2 separate regions of the Homo sapiens genome follow, and region 2 is linked to region 1. The links are contacts of gene promoters, found by promoter capture Hi-C in human tissues and cell types (Jung and others, 2019). All regions are on one chromosome and are shown on one strand. Each heading gives the region's core, a stretch centred on a gene start or on the middle of the fragment in contact. The rest is flanking DNA. Distances are from core to core; before and after follow the strand shown. Region 1 holds the start of CDKN2AIPNL (CDKN2A interacting protein N-terminal like). Region 2 has its middle 12 kb from the start of LINC02999.

What was found. Contacts are between HindIII fragments. The study calls those that stand out against the background at their distance.
Region 2: a contact is called between a fragment that was not itself captured here and the fragment with the promoter of CDKN2AIPNL in region 1, in 1 of the 25 tissues and cell types used here (mesenchymal stem cells).

The regions. Positions count from the first base shown.
Region 1 is chr5:134,408,464-134,415,632 of GRCh38, forward strand. It overlaps CDKN2AIPNL (CDKN2A interacting protein N-terminal like), which reads right to left and starts at 3,418. Exons shown (of 3, transcript NM_080656.3): 1 at 3,153-3,418; 2 at 1,440-1,539. The coding sequence starts at 3,391. RefSeq lists enhancers at 2,810-3,548, 3,072-3,561, 3,549-4,286. The HindIII fragment of the contact is 17,979 bases long and covers 1,978-7,169 here.
Region 2 is chr5:134,443,716-134,450,860 of GRCh38, forward strand. No RefSeq gene overlaps it. Among named protein-coding and RNA genes, the nearest start is that of LINC02999, 12 kb to the left of the region's middle. The HindIII fragment of the contact is 3,414 bases long and covers 2,738-6,151 here.

The DNA.
Region 1 (7,169 bases), core at 2,168-4,667:
TCGAGACCATCCTGGCTAACACGGTGAAACCCCGTCTCTACTAAAAATACAAAAAAAAAAAAAAAAAAAAAATTGGCTGGGCGTGGTGGCAGGCGCCTGTAGTCCCAGCTACTCAGGAGGCTGAGGCAGGAGAATGGTGTGAACCTGGGAGGCAGAGCTTGCAGTGAGCCCAGATCGCACCACCTCACTCCAGCCTGGGCGACACAGGGAGACTCCCTCTCAAAAACAAACAAACAAACAAACAAAAACAAAAAAACAGCTGATTTTACTTACTGATTTTTTGTCAGGAGTACTGTGTTGAGGTAACAGCTGATTTTAAAACATAATAGCATCTCGAAAACCAACCTGAAGCTTTTCCCCAGGTTCAGATTAAAACTAAAAGAATACTTTTTTAAGAAAAACAAACCATCCTGAAAATCAAGTGGGGTGTACTATTTGGGACTGAAATACTTTATGAGCAACTGAGAATCTGATTAGTTCCTTGACACCCATATGGAAGAGGACCTCTATATGTGCCCCACCTCCCAAGACAAGACCTAAATGTGGAGGAATGGGCTTACCTATGTTTCTAAGGGCAGACCTAAAAAGGGGCCAGCAGCTTTTTACTCTACTGCTTCAGTCGATTTTATAAGTATTTTCTGAGTACCTTCTCTGGGGTATAAGTATACTAGGTTTGGGAGTTGTAAAGACTAAATAGAACTTTAGACACCATCTGTAAGGTCACAACTGCTTTAAAAGAGCCCTGGATAAAGTGCCAAAGGAACTTCAGAAGATAAGCGAGCAATTAATTCTGCTGCCTGAGCAGACAAATGTGAAACAAGCATGTTTTGGAGGTGATTCTGAAAAGTATTAATAGCTGGGATGCCCAGCTCCATATTCTGAGGTTCTTTCTGCCACATTCTGTAGCCCCAGCTCCAGTGTCCAGATTCAAGACTCTAGGCAAGACTCACTGTAAAAAGCCCATCGCCTGAGATCAGACCCCAAAGGGTAGAGAACAGCTATGCCATCGACATTGCTCCAGGCACGTTCTTATCAGCAAATCACAGAAGCCAAACAAGTCAGGTCGGCACTCACACCGGCACTCACACCTGGGGTAAGGATGAGTCTTACCAATGAGATTTTTTAACAAGTAGGAAACTTAAGTATTCTAGCCAACATCTTTTTAAACATCAAGCAAAAATCTCAAAACAATGTTCCTAAACAACCGGAAGAGGTTAAGCTTATGTGTTACCTCATCAACAATGCATAATTTACCACAGTGAGTTGTCAACTATTTATGAAAAGGCTTATACCAATTATGGGGAAATAAAAATGAAAGGGTATAGGTCTTTGGGGCAGTAAAGAGCATTCAAAAACAATATACTCTAATATAGTGTCATCAAGGCAGGGACTGTTAACTCTACACCATTTCATCACATGCACTTGGAAATCCTATTTACCTTTTTCATTAATTCACTTCTGGTAGTAAATTGTGGCAGGTCTTCCACTTCAATCCCATCGGCCATTTCCATCACCTTGTCTAAAAGGTCTTTATTGTAACTGCACAATAAAAAGTAGTAAGGTAAAAACCTTGGAACAATTGTCACTGTGGATTAATAAGAAACTGCAGGTTGCTCAACTATAAAATCAGCTCTCAGAGAACTGACCTGATACTGCAGGGCAAACCTATACATGTTCCCCACAAGGTTTTGAGATGGAGTCTTGCTCTGTCCCCCAGGTTGGAGTGCAGTGGTGTGATCTCGGCTCACTGCAACCTCCACCTCCCAGGTTCAAGCAATTCTCCTGCCTCAGCCTCCCGAGTAGCTGGGATTACAGGCGTGTGCCACCACGCCTGGCTAATTTTTTATTTTTAGTAGAGACAGGGTTTCACCATGTTGGCCAGGCTGGTCTCCAACTCCTGACCTCAAGTGATCCTCCTCCCAAAGTGCTAGGATTACTGGCGTGAGACACCGTGCCTGGCCCTGTGAACACTTCTTGCTTGTAGATACAGAAGTGGACTTCAGAAATACCAGTACAGCAGATGTTTCAAGATTTAGAAGAACAGAGGCACTGTACATCCAGCAACAGATATTCTCAGATACAGGATGAGGACCAAAATATTTTTATTTTTTAAATACATGGAATGTTAGTCTAACAAAAACATTATTTATTTCCCCAATTCTCTGACATTTGCCTAACCATGGAAAACCAGGATTTCCCAGGAGCACCTAGAAGGCAGGGAAAAGGGACGGGTGCCTCTGGCATTGCTTCCCTACGTACTGTTCTAATAAACCCCAATATGTGAAGCAAAACCAAGTGGCTTAGGCCTGCAGGGGCCAAATGACCAGAGTCAGGCAGCCATAATAGGTATAGAAACCAAGATCAAACCAAGTCACCCTATTTTCCTAACACAATTTCAGGAAAATCGAAGCTCTCTAATAGGGAGTCTCAAGATTTGCCACCTTCCTCATGGAGGGGTGAAAGGAATGCCTTATCAGGCACTTCAAAAGCGGGCCTTTGTCCTTTTGGTGCTGCAGCCAGGATGAAGTGGGCTTTGAGACCTTCACAAAAAGGCATCGGCCATTTTCATAAGAGGGAAAGCAGAGAGGTGAAGCTGGTTCCTACTTAGGACCCCGTGGGCTGTGGAGTGAGGAGAAAAAGCCATAGGATACAGATTACATCCTCTCATTAGTGATTAAAATCCATCAATCCTGCCAGAAGCTGCATGGCCCCAGGTATATCACTTCTCTCCCTAAGCTTTTTCATCTGTAAAATGGGGATCTCCGTTTCTCTCTCTGCACGTTTGCCATGTAGGTGACAGGGGCTAACGGACTTCGAATGCATACTGCAAAGGTGATGGTTTGAGCTAATAATAATAGTAATACAAATAACAATAGCAACCTTTGAACCCGCCATGTATTTAGCTCTTCACCCTTTAATTATTACAGCCATCATAACCACCCTTTTACCAGAAGAGAAAACTGAGGCTCAAAGATAAGGATCTTTCCAAGGGGCCTCCAGGGTGGGAATCAGTCTTCGGGCCGACCAATGCGGATGGAGGTTGGGCCCGGGTTCAGTCTGGGGCAGAGGTTCGGGTCAGGGGTGAGCCCTGGGAGAGGCCTTGAGGGTCGGAAGATAGGGGACAGGATCAGCCGGCCGGCAGGGGTCCGCACCTGCAGCCTAGGAAGAGATGGTTGGCCCAGACCATGGAGAGGGAGAGCAGCTGGTCCAGGCGGCCACTGCCGTCGGGCGGGTCGCGGTAGTCGGGCAGGTGGCGCAGGATGAATTCCATGCGGGCCTTCCATTGCTTCTCGCTCTCTGAGTAGGAGCGGAACTGCTCCGCGAAGTCGGCCGCCTGCCGCACCCCCGAAACCAGCTCCTCCACTGCGGCAGCCGCCTCGCCACCGACCATGGTGCCCGCCGCAGCCGAGGACCGGATAGCCCGCCGCCTTCCCGACGCGCACTGCGCCACCGCCTGCCGGCCAGAGGGGCCCCATCAGCGCACGACTGCTCCAGAAGACCAACCTGGAGCGCCCTCGCCCGGAGCGGCGGCCTGCGGGGGCACAGAGCGGCTCCTGGCTCCTCAGACCGCCGCAGCCCGTGGCTCCTGCCCTGGGTCTACCCAGGGCTACAAGGGTCTTTTGCGGTCGACCCTGCGGGGAACCGGTGGGAAAACTGAGGTCCCTAAACACAGATTCGGAGCGCCCTCTTCCAGTTGGCAGCTGGATGCCAGCCAGAGCTATGCTGTGCCCTTGCCCTGAGAGTTTCCCGGGCACCGCCTCATCCTGAGCGACATCAGGGGGCCCGGGTCACGGTCGACTTCCAGGGGTCTCCACAGCCACGAAGGTTGGGGCCCGCCTTCCTGGAGCGAGTAATCCATCCATCCCGTGAATACTTGCCAGGCACATTGCTAGGTGCTGGAGAGGCAATGAGAGCACATTCGGAGCCCTGCTCGCCTGAACTTTACCATGGAGTGGAGGAGTGGACATTAGTGACATAATTGCTCAAGTAAATGGAGAATTTCAGCGTTGACAAGTATTAGTAAAGAGAAGTTCAGCGTGCTACAACCATGAATAAGCAAGGGACCCAATCTAGTCTTGGGGTCAGGGAAGTGATCCTGGAGAAGTGAAGAATGAGCAGTTTTCTGAGTAAAGGGGAGTCGGTCAAAGCAAGAGAGAGCATGGCCTGGTAAGAGAATTGCAAGATAGGGGGTAGGAGGGGTTGGGGGGCGGGGCAGGGCAGGTAGAGAATGGAGAAGATGAAGTTGCAGAGGTCAGCAAGGCCAGTAGGCCAGGCAGGGATCCTGGCTAGATCCCAAGAATGGGGAGCCGCTGAAGGATTTTAACCAGAACAGTGACACCTGTGTTTACAAAAGATGCTGGAAGGAGCCAGAAACAATGTGTCCAGAGGAAATGAGCAAGTTTGGACTTGGTTTTAAATAGAGACAGGGTTTCGCCATGTTGCCCAGGCTGGTCTCGAACTCCTGAGCTCAAGTGATCCGTCTCCCTCAGCCTCCCAAAATGCTGGGATTACAGGTATGAGCCATCGTAACTGGCTGGACCTGAAAGTTTTTATTTAGCTGGCATGACTCTGCTGTCTGTTCGAGTCTCAGGTAGCAGACACACTGAGAGAAAAAAGAGCTTCCTTTTAAGTGGTGAATTTTCCATCCCTGGAAGCATTCAACTACAGTAACTGGGTGTTGGGGCTCAGAAACCAACACCCCAAAATGTATTTTGACATGCTGAACTGATGAAGAAGCCTCAAGGTCTCTGTGACCTCCGCCACCAACACACACTCCTGTCTGTCAATTCTTTGTTCCTCCCAAAGCACAAGATGAAGTTGTTCCCTTATCTGCCTAAATTTAGTCCAGAACGCCAAAGGAAACAATTATCTCTGGTTCCCTCCCTGAGTTTTCATTAAGTGAATTTGTTTTGCAGGAGGAAAGACTGAAGTATGGTCAACACACTAGGACAGACTTTTGTCACAAACCCTTGTCTCCTCTGCAGGCCCAACAGACTTTGTCCCAGGCCATTGCATGTTCTTCAAGCCCATTGAATTACCCTAAAAATCATTTACTACCCATCTAAAATATTCACACTCTGGATGATGGGGTAATCACTCTGTGATTAACTATGCACATTAATAAACTTGTATGTCTTTTCTCTTTTTTTTTTTTTTTTGAGAGCAAATTTCACTCTTTTTGCCCAGGCTGGAGTGCAATGGTGTGATCTCTGCTCACCGCAACTTCTGCCTCCCAGGTTCAAGTGATTCTCCTGCCTCAGCCTCCTGAGTAGCTGGGATTACAGGCACCTGACATCACGCCCGGCTAATTTTGTATCTTTAGTAGAAACGGGGTTTCACCATGTTGACCAGGCTGGTCTCGAACCCCTGATCTCAGGTGGTCCAAGCTCCTCGGCCTCCCAAAATGATGGGATTATAGGCGTGAGCCACAGTGCCTGGCTGCCTTTTCTCCTCTTAATCTGCCTTTTGTCAATTGATTTTCACTAACCTTCAGAGAGCAAAGGAAAGTTTTCCCTTCACACAAAGAGTCACTTGAGCCTTCACCAGCTTTGAGAGATTATTGACCTAATAGGCTTCCCCATTGCCCCCAGTCAAATGTGAGGTTGGGGTACAGAGGTGAGCCTAGAATCCACGATCTAGGGCTCCAGTGCAGGTCCTGTATTGTGAGTGTGGCCTGTGGGGAGAGCTGATTACATCCTGTCTGCTGCTTCTGCAGCTTCTTTTGGGGCATCAGGGTCCCCAGAAATCAGAGACTCAACAAAGCATGGAAATACAGGGCAGTCCGCATAGAATGAACCTGAAGACCCAGCACCAAGCTCAGTGATATGGCATAATGGTTAACAACAGGGAGGCATGATATTCATGCAAATGTGGGCAAGCAAAGTGTCAACAGGCCTGTGAGACCAAAGACAGAGTTAGCTACTCCCAGCAATCAGGAATTGGTGCACAGACCTAAAAGTCCCAAAAGTGAGTGCAGATCCCACGTCCTGAGAGGCTCGTTAAAATGACAGACTCCCCCAGGCTCACCATTGGATGTTCAGATTCAAGGCCCCAGGTAATTCTGCTTCCACCTGCCGCTGACCAAACTTAGAAAAACTCAAAGTTAGACTGGGAGTGGTGGCTCATGCCTGCAATCCCAGCACTTTGGGAGGCCGAGGCGGGCAGATCACGAGGTCAGGAGATCGAGACCATCCTGGCTAACACGGTGAAACCCCGTCTCTACTAAAAATACAAAAAATAACCAGGCGTGGTGGTGGGCACCTGTAATCCCAGCTGCTTGGGAGGCTGAGGCAGGAGAATGGCGTGAACCCAGGAGGCAGAGGTTGCAGTGAGCTGAGATCGCACCAATGCACTCCAGCCTGGGTGACAGAGTGAGACTCCGTCTCAAAAAAAGAAAAACTCAAAGTTGTTGAGGGTTCTCTGAGCTAAAGTCTTGGTCACCTGATTGTATAGTACAGAGGTTAGCTCAGAAAGTCTTGGTCACCTGATTGTATAGTACAGAGGTTAGCTCAGAAATAGGAACCCAGGCTCTGCAAATAGCAGCTGCAGTTACACAGCCAATCCTGCCTATGGGGTGTGAAAAAGCTAAAGGTCATGCAGCAACTACCTTATTTAGCATATCTGTGACAATTATGGAGCATATGCATATACATAACATACGGACGAACATATTCAGACATGCATACAATTGTAAACCCAAAAGTGCACAAATAGGTATTCTTTTTTTTTTTTTTAATACAGAATCTTGCTCTGCCATACAGGCTGGAGTGCAGTGCCACATCATGGCTGACTGCAGCCTTGACCTCCCAGGTTCAAGAAATCCTCCCACCTCAGCCTCCATGAGTAGCTGGGACTACAGGTGTGTGCCACAATGCCTGGCTAATTTTTAAGTTTTTCATAGAGTTGGGATCTTGCTATGTTATCCAGGCTGGTCTCAAACTCCCGGGCTCAAGTGATCCTCTTGCCTCAGCCTCCCAAGGTGCTAGGATTACAGGCATGAGCCACTACACCTGGCCAGGTATTCTTTCTTTAAAAAAAAATTGTGATGTTGTTAACATTATGCTTTCAAAATGCTAAGCAGTATAAAATATTGGCCAGGCACAGTGGCTCACAGGCCTGTAATCCCAGCACTTTGGGAGGCTGAGGCAGGCGGATCACCTGAGGTCAGG
Region 2 (7,145 bases), core at 3,195-5,694, 36 kb after region 1:
CTGAAGAGCAGAAGTGGTGAGAGGACTGGAAAAATCTAGAAAGCAGATGTCAGGGCCTCTGGCAGAATGCAAGAAACTAAGATTTCAGACAGAAGCTATCCCACTGTGGCAAGAGCCAAATGCGAGAAGTTGGGGAACATTAAGCAGGTCTGGGAATTGTGATGAGTGAGGTCAAGAATTGTGTTGGCTGGTTAGTTCACAGGGATGTCAGAGTCTGTGATGAAGCAGAATGTGAGGTGGAGAGGAAGCCTCAGAGGGGCTGGCCATTGTTCTGCAATCAGGGACCTGGGAAGGACTGCTGTAGTGAAAGGCATGGGCTAGCAGGATTGCCATCACTCAGTCTGTCAGCTGCCATGACTGAGTGGATCTGAGCAGGGCGGTGTACGGATCGCTCAGGAGACCACCTGAGATGCTTACCTGAAGGCTGGTTCCTGAAGTGTCACCTGCAAATGCTGATGTAGGCCAACACTATCCAGAAACAGCCAGACCCACAGCAGAGCACTGCTGTCAGCTGGTAAAGTGTCATGGCACTGCCCAAAGCATCTTATTCACAAATCTGTCTGGGCCTCATGGACATCCCAGGGAGACCCATAAGAGAGTGGCCTCTCCCTGTACCAGGTAAGGTCACCTAAGTGATAAGAGAGACTGCACAGGAGAGGGTGGAGTCAGGGTCTCCTGATCCTTGGGCTGTGGTTCTCATTATAAAATGCCTTTTGCAGACATTTCTGACATAAACTGCCCATCATCTTAGGAAGATTTGGGCATCAACTTGCCATTGGCAGCAGGGACAACTGAGACAGCCTCCAAAAGGCACTTCCAGCTGGCGACTCTTAGAAGAATTTCTGAATGAATGGTGCCAAACCAGGAATAGGAATAGGAGTGTCAGAAAACCCAAAATAATAGTTATGAAAACAAGAGGAGTTTATTTCAAAAAAAAAAAAAAAAAAAAACCAGATGAGGTTGGAGGTAGGTGTCAAGGGTTGCTAGGCCCTCCACTGTTTCAGAAGGCCAAAGTTCCTTCTGTTTTATTGTTCTCCTCTATTGTTGAGTAACAAATTACTTCAAAATGCAGTGGCTTAAAACAACTGTAAACATCTATTATCTCGCACTTTCCGTGGTCAGGATTTGAGACTTAGCTGGGTGGTTCTGGCTCAAGCTGTCTCATGAGGTTGCAGTTGGGATGTCAGATGAAGCTGTGGTCATCTGAAGGGGTGACTGGACCACCACATTGCTGGCAAGTTAACCCTGGCTATTTGCAGCAAGCCTCGGTCTCTCACTGCCCCTAATCCTTCATTGGGTTGCTTGAGTGGGCTTCTGCTAGCCTAGAACGAGTGATACAGTGAGGGCAAGGCATACACTGCAATGTCTTTTATGATGTCATCTCAGAAGTCACTTACTATCATTTCTGCAATACCCTGTTGGTTACATGGATCAGCCCTATTGCATACAGGAGAGAACTGAATAAGGACATGAATCACTGGGGGCCATCTCAGAAGCTAGCTACCACATCTGCCATCCTCAAAGCATGTGGCTTCATCCTCATGTCCCAAGATGGCTGCTCGAACTCCGGCAATCACATCACAGACAGTGCATTGCAGCTAGTGGGAAGAAGGAGGAAAGGAAGCAGCGTGTGATTTCCTGAAGTTGGATGTACCATTCTATTTTAGTCTCACTGGTCAGAACTTAGTCATATATTGATAACTGCAAAGGGGGCTAGGAAATTTAGTATTTATTTTGGGTGGCCATGTGTTCAGCTAGACCAGATATTGGGGATAACTGGCCATCTCTGCCACATCAGCAGTGTTCCCGTGTGTATCACACAGGATGAGGTCTGAGGGAGGAAGCACAGAGAACATTACTACCTTGGGTTACTGACCTGGCAAATGACTTACAACCCATTTTGTCTGGGAAATACATGTGTGTGTGCGTGTGCGTGTGTGTGTGTGATGGGGATGGGGAGGAGTGCAAACTGTGCTTCACCCCGTAATTAGTGAATCTCACTTTAAAAAGAAAATAGTCCTTAGAGAAGCTTAGGAGACAAATAAGTGTAAACAACAGACCCAGTCCTAGAAGCCCAGCCAAGGGTGCTCTTAAAAATTAAGAAGCTCCAGAAGATGAAAGATCATCACAGGAGGCATAGTGAGGGCAGCCTCATTCTATCCCTAGACCTGCAGGTTTAAGTAAATTCCAGGCAGCCTGATTTACTGATCCAAATGCAGAAACACAGATGGGCGCCTCCACCAGCTGTGTTTTTAAAAGATCATATGATTCCTGATCAATGAACCAAAGAGACTGAATGCAGAAGTATTTAGCGCTGAGCTGAGGATTTGCCCAGAGACCTCTCAGAGAGCAGAGCCAAATCTTGAGCAGCCAGCTGAGTGCTGACTCAAGCTGGGGATGGGGGTAAGGAGGGTGGTATTGGGCGGCAGAGGCCTAGCTGAGTAGAAGATGAGCCATCAGTCAGCCAGAGAACTCTAAGGTGAGAAAAGTCCACAGGAAGAAAATCTGCCCTGGCAGAAGGAAGACAAGGCTCTGGCTTGGTCAACTGGCCAGTGACGGGGTACTGTGATCCTAGAGGAATGCGAAGTCTGGAGCAAGAAGCCTGGGGCTAGGGCATCCGAAAGGACAGCAGGTACTGCCAAGTTCCTTCTGGCAGGAGTTTGCTTTCTCCTTTCTGCCACATTCTGCCTGGACAGTGGAACCTTATCTTGGGCTGTGTGTGGACTAAGGACTCAGTGGTACTTGCGGCATGGAGGGTGGCTGGGGACCTCCCACCTGCCTGGCTGGTCCTACTCTCTGCCCATGGTTGGGGGTGTTGGCCCAAGTTGGATGAAGTCCTGTGTCCTGCATCCCTACTTGGCCATCTCCAGATGGGGCTGTCAGGACACCCTGGGCAGCTAGCGTGTTCACTCACTCAGGCCACAAGCCATGCTCCTTATTGCACATGGTCATCAGTCATCACTGCATTCTTGCTGTACAAGAGTCAATTTCCAGTGCAGTAAGGGGATCACCAGAATTCCCAGCCTTCCCATTGTGCCTTGGCCTGAATCTCAAGTTTACCAACAAGGCCTTGGAGGACCTCTGCAGACCCTAGTTTGAAGGCCCTTTCATGAGAGACACCTCCAGGCATGGTTGAGGTCAGGCCCCACCTTGGGCAGAGAAGGATGCAGGGAGTAGTGAGGAGGGAAAAATCAGCCCAAAGGGCATGGAATTGGCTCAGGCAGCCTGAGACTGTTTCGTGGCTCTGTTGCAGCAGTGTGTATTGAGCTCAATGGGGAAGACACTGGGCTATACCCTGGGGACACAGAGGGGAGGGCTCCTATGACATCACCCCGGACACATAAATAAAGCAAAGCAGCAGAGGGTGCAATATGCAGTGATGGGTTAAGGACAAGGTCCAGAAAGAATGTGGGAGGGGAGTTTGCTGGCAGAGTAGTAAAGGAAAGCTTCACAGAGGAGGTGACACCTGCAAGAAAGAACAGGAGGAGGAGGGGCAAATCAGGGAGAGGGAAGGGCAGGCTCAGAGTCCTGAGCTGGGCAACCACCTGGGGTAGAAATAAGGGAATCTCACCTGATGTGTTGACTGTGCTCTGAAATTTCTGGGCTCCTTCAGGGTGGAGTGTAGCCTTGATCTCTCTCCGCTAACTCAGAAGAGTCAGGGGAGTGGAGAAGATGCTCCCTCTGCAAGATTTGTTGCATTTCCTTTTATATTTGGGTCTTTGGTACCTGACCATGATGGTGAAGTTATCATAAATTAAGAAAGAAGAGGGGCCAGGTGAGGTGGCTCATGCCTGTAATCGCAGCCCTTTGGTAGGCTGAGCTAGGAGGATTGCTTGAGGCCAGGAGTTCAAAATCAGTGTGGGCAACATAACGAGACCCTGTCTCTACAAAAAATGAAAAAGAAAAAAGAAATAGCTGGTGTACACCTATAGTCCTAACTACTCAGGAGGTTGAGGCTGGAGAATCACTCAAGCCCAGGAATTCAAGGTTGCAGTTAGCCATGACTGCACCACTGCACTCCAGCCTGGGTGAAAGAGCAAGACCGTGTCTCCAAAAAAAAAGAGAGTGAAATTTCTTTGGTCTAGGAGAATCTGCCCAAGCCCCTCATTCCTTTTCCATGTAGGTTTCCAAGTGATTCTGGATGGACCGTTAGGCCTGATTGTCCCCAGAAGCCTCGGATGGGGCAGGAGGCAGGGCTGGGAGGCACACTGGGTGGGGCACTCTGCAACTCTCTCCACTGTTAGATACAGTCCCCTGAGGTCTCAGAGCTTCTCCAGAACCCAGGGGAACCCCCAGCGCCACCAAAGCACCCACCTTGCCTCTTGCAACAGGCCTTATAGCATGAGAAGAGTGATGTGGCTCATGCTGGCACATCATGTATGACCCCAGTCACAGTTTTTGTGGTGTGCAAACTTGCCTTTCCTCCAGGCCCCAGGAAAATGTGAAATGCAAATAAATCACCACGCAAATCTAAAACAAACATCAGCTCCAGAGCTGTTTTATGAAGGCAGAAGGAATCGCAGGCCCTGAGTGGTCCAGCAGGCCCCACTCTCTCTGGGTCATGGTGGGCAGGTGGGCCCAAGCCAGAGCCATGCTGGGATGGCACCCTGTCTCCAGCTACAGGTGGCCCAGGAACCTCAGGCATGGAGCTGCCAGTGCCCAGAAAGGCTACAGGAGAATTTACGGCGCAGATGGAGAATGGGGCCTGCCCTTAGTATCTAGTCCCTGGACAGCCCATCTCTTTCACCCAGGAATCTCTGTCTCCTGGTTGTTGCTCTTCTCACTGGGATGTGCAAATAACCTCCTGGCAGCCTTGGTCTCTCTCTTACCTCTGTCAGTTCCAGTCCGAAGGCCTAGCTCAGGTCACATCCCTCTGACTCAGATACACTTTAATTACAAACTCCTCAGTCTGTCATTTAAGGCTTCACCCACTACGGTACCAATTCACCACTCACCAGTCCTTCAGATCATCATCCCCCAGCCATGTATGTGCCCATCCTTTTTATAGTCTCCCTGCAAAGCTCTCCCATCTTCAGGTCCTGGATCTTGCCTTTACCTGGTCCCAAAGCCCCCTTATGGGGGCATTTGCTGTGATGCTTGGCCCACCTGATCAGGCCCCGCTTTAACACTGTCTCACCTATCAAGTCTTCCTTGACATTCTCTGCCCCCTGAACCTATGGCCTAAGGGATGGAGCTTTTTACTAGATTTGCATCTTTAATTATAGGAGTGATACATGCTTGTAAAAACATTCCCACATTACAGAAGCATACACAGTAAAATGAGTGTGTGTCATCCCAACTCTCCATTCCCTAGAACTCACTCCAGTTAACAGCTAAACCTACACACAGACCCTTGTTTTACCAGCATGGGAGGGGCCCTTGGGGACCTTCCGTAACTACTTAAGCTAGCAGTAGCAGAGTAGCGGTGAGGGGTGAGCAGACTTGGTGAAGGTTTTGGAGAGCGGTGACCTGGGTTGACTCAGAAAGAAAATCCTCAAGGTTGGTCTGTGGGACCCCTTAATTTCTTTTACAAGTCAGTTCAAAGAACAGAGCCCCAGGGAGACATTCCTAGTTGTGTGGGAATAGTCATTCTGTTCTCCCAAGAGCCAGAAACTCAAGTTCAAAAGGCAACCAGGTCTCTAAAGAATTCCCTTGGCCTAGCACAACCTGTCACTGCAAGCCCAGGTGGAGCTGAAGTCTGGCAGTCTTAATGGGGTGGTCACTCAGTCAGATGGAGAGAGTCAGAGCTAGAACCTAGGCCTTTTCTTCTCCAGCCTGGGCCCTTGCCTGTGCCCTGCGGGCCCCTGCCTGTGCCCTGTGGGCCCCTATGTTCTGGCTGGTCATCCTGGAGTACCCCTACCACCAAACAACAGAGACCCCTGTGTGCCCTGCTGGCAAAGCAGTGATTCTCTTTACAGTGTGGCCCAGAGAAGAGTCCACCTTCAGAAATAAATGACCCTGCCCTCCTTAGAATAGGATCTAAGTGAAGAACAGGGCTGTGCAGGCATCTCCTTCATGAGGGACTCCAGCCCATGTTACTAGGGAGTGTGAGGGGCAGGGGACACATGCCTTCCCCAGATAACCTGAGGGACTACATCCCTCCTCCACACTCCAAGTCAAATATTTATTGAGGCAAGAGAAGAGACTGGAGTGCTCCAAGTTGGGAAGACCTAACCCCAACTTGGAGATGTGATGGAAGGCTCTCCCAAGATGTCAGTATCTAAACTTACACTTGAAAGATAAGCAAAAGCCGGGTGCAGTGGCTCACGCCTGTAATCCCAGCACTTTGGGAGGCCGAGGCAGGAGGATCACCTGAGGTCAGGAGTTTGAGACCAACCTGGCCAACATGGTGAAACCCCGTCTCCACTAAAAATATAAAAATTAGCTGGGCGTGGTGGCGCATGCCTGTTATCCCAGCTACTGGGGAGGCTGAGGCAGGAGAATCGCTTGAACCCAGGAAGCAGAGGTTGCGGTGAGCTGAGATCGCGCCATTGCACTCCAGCCTGGGCAACAGAGTGAGACTCCATCTAAAAATAAAATAAAATAAAATAAAGATAAGTAAGAAGTGGCCAGGTAAAGCATTCCTTGCAGAGGGAACACCATCGGCAAAGGTCTGAAGGTGAGAGGAAACATTACTTTGGAGAAACTGAAACTTCACTGTGGCCGAACCTAGTGTGTAAGGGGGATGTAGTGGGCAGTGGTTGGAGAAGTCAACTGCCTGCATGTGCAAACCCTTCTCTGTCAGCCCAGAAGGCCAGGGCTTTGTCCCCATGGCCAAGCAGAGTCAAGGAAGGGTTAAGCAGGGGGGTGACATTTTAGACAGACTGAGATTGCCACATAGACCACGAGCTGGAGGTGATAAGTTTAGAGGAAGTGAATGTCTTTGGGTGAGCAGTATGGTGGCCTGGACTAGGGTAGACATAGTGGAATATAGAGAAGAAGTGGAATTCAACACAGCATGGGGGGAGGTGAGGGAGAGGAAGGCAACCCTGGCTTTGTTGTTGGGGATATAAATCCCAGGCCCACAGTTGAATTTAGCAAACAGTTGCTAACTGGTTTGGGCTCACAGAGTGGGGAGCTGGGGGTCCCCACGTTGTTTCACAGGTGAAAAATTGAAGGCCAGTAGCAAGTGAGAAGCCCTGACC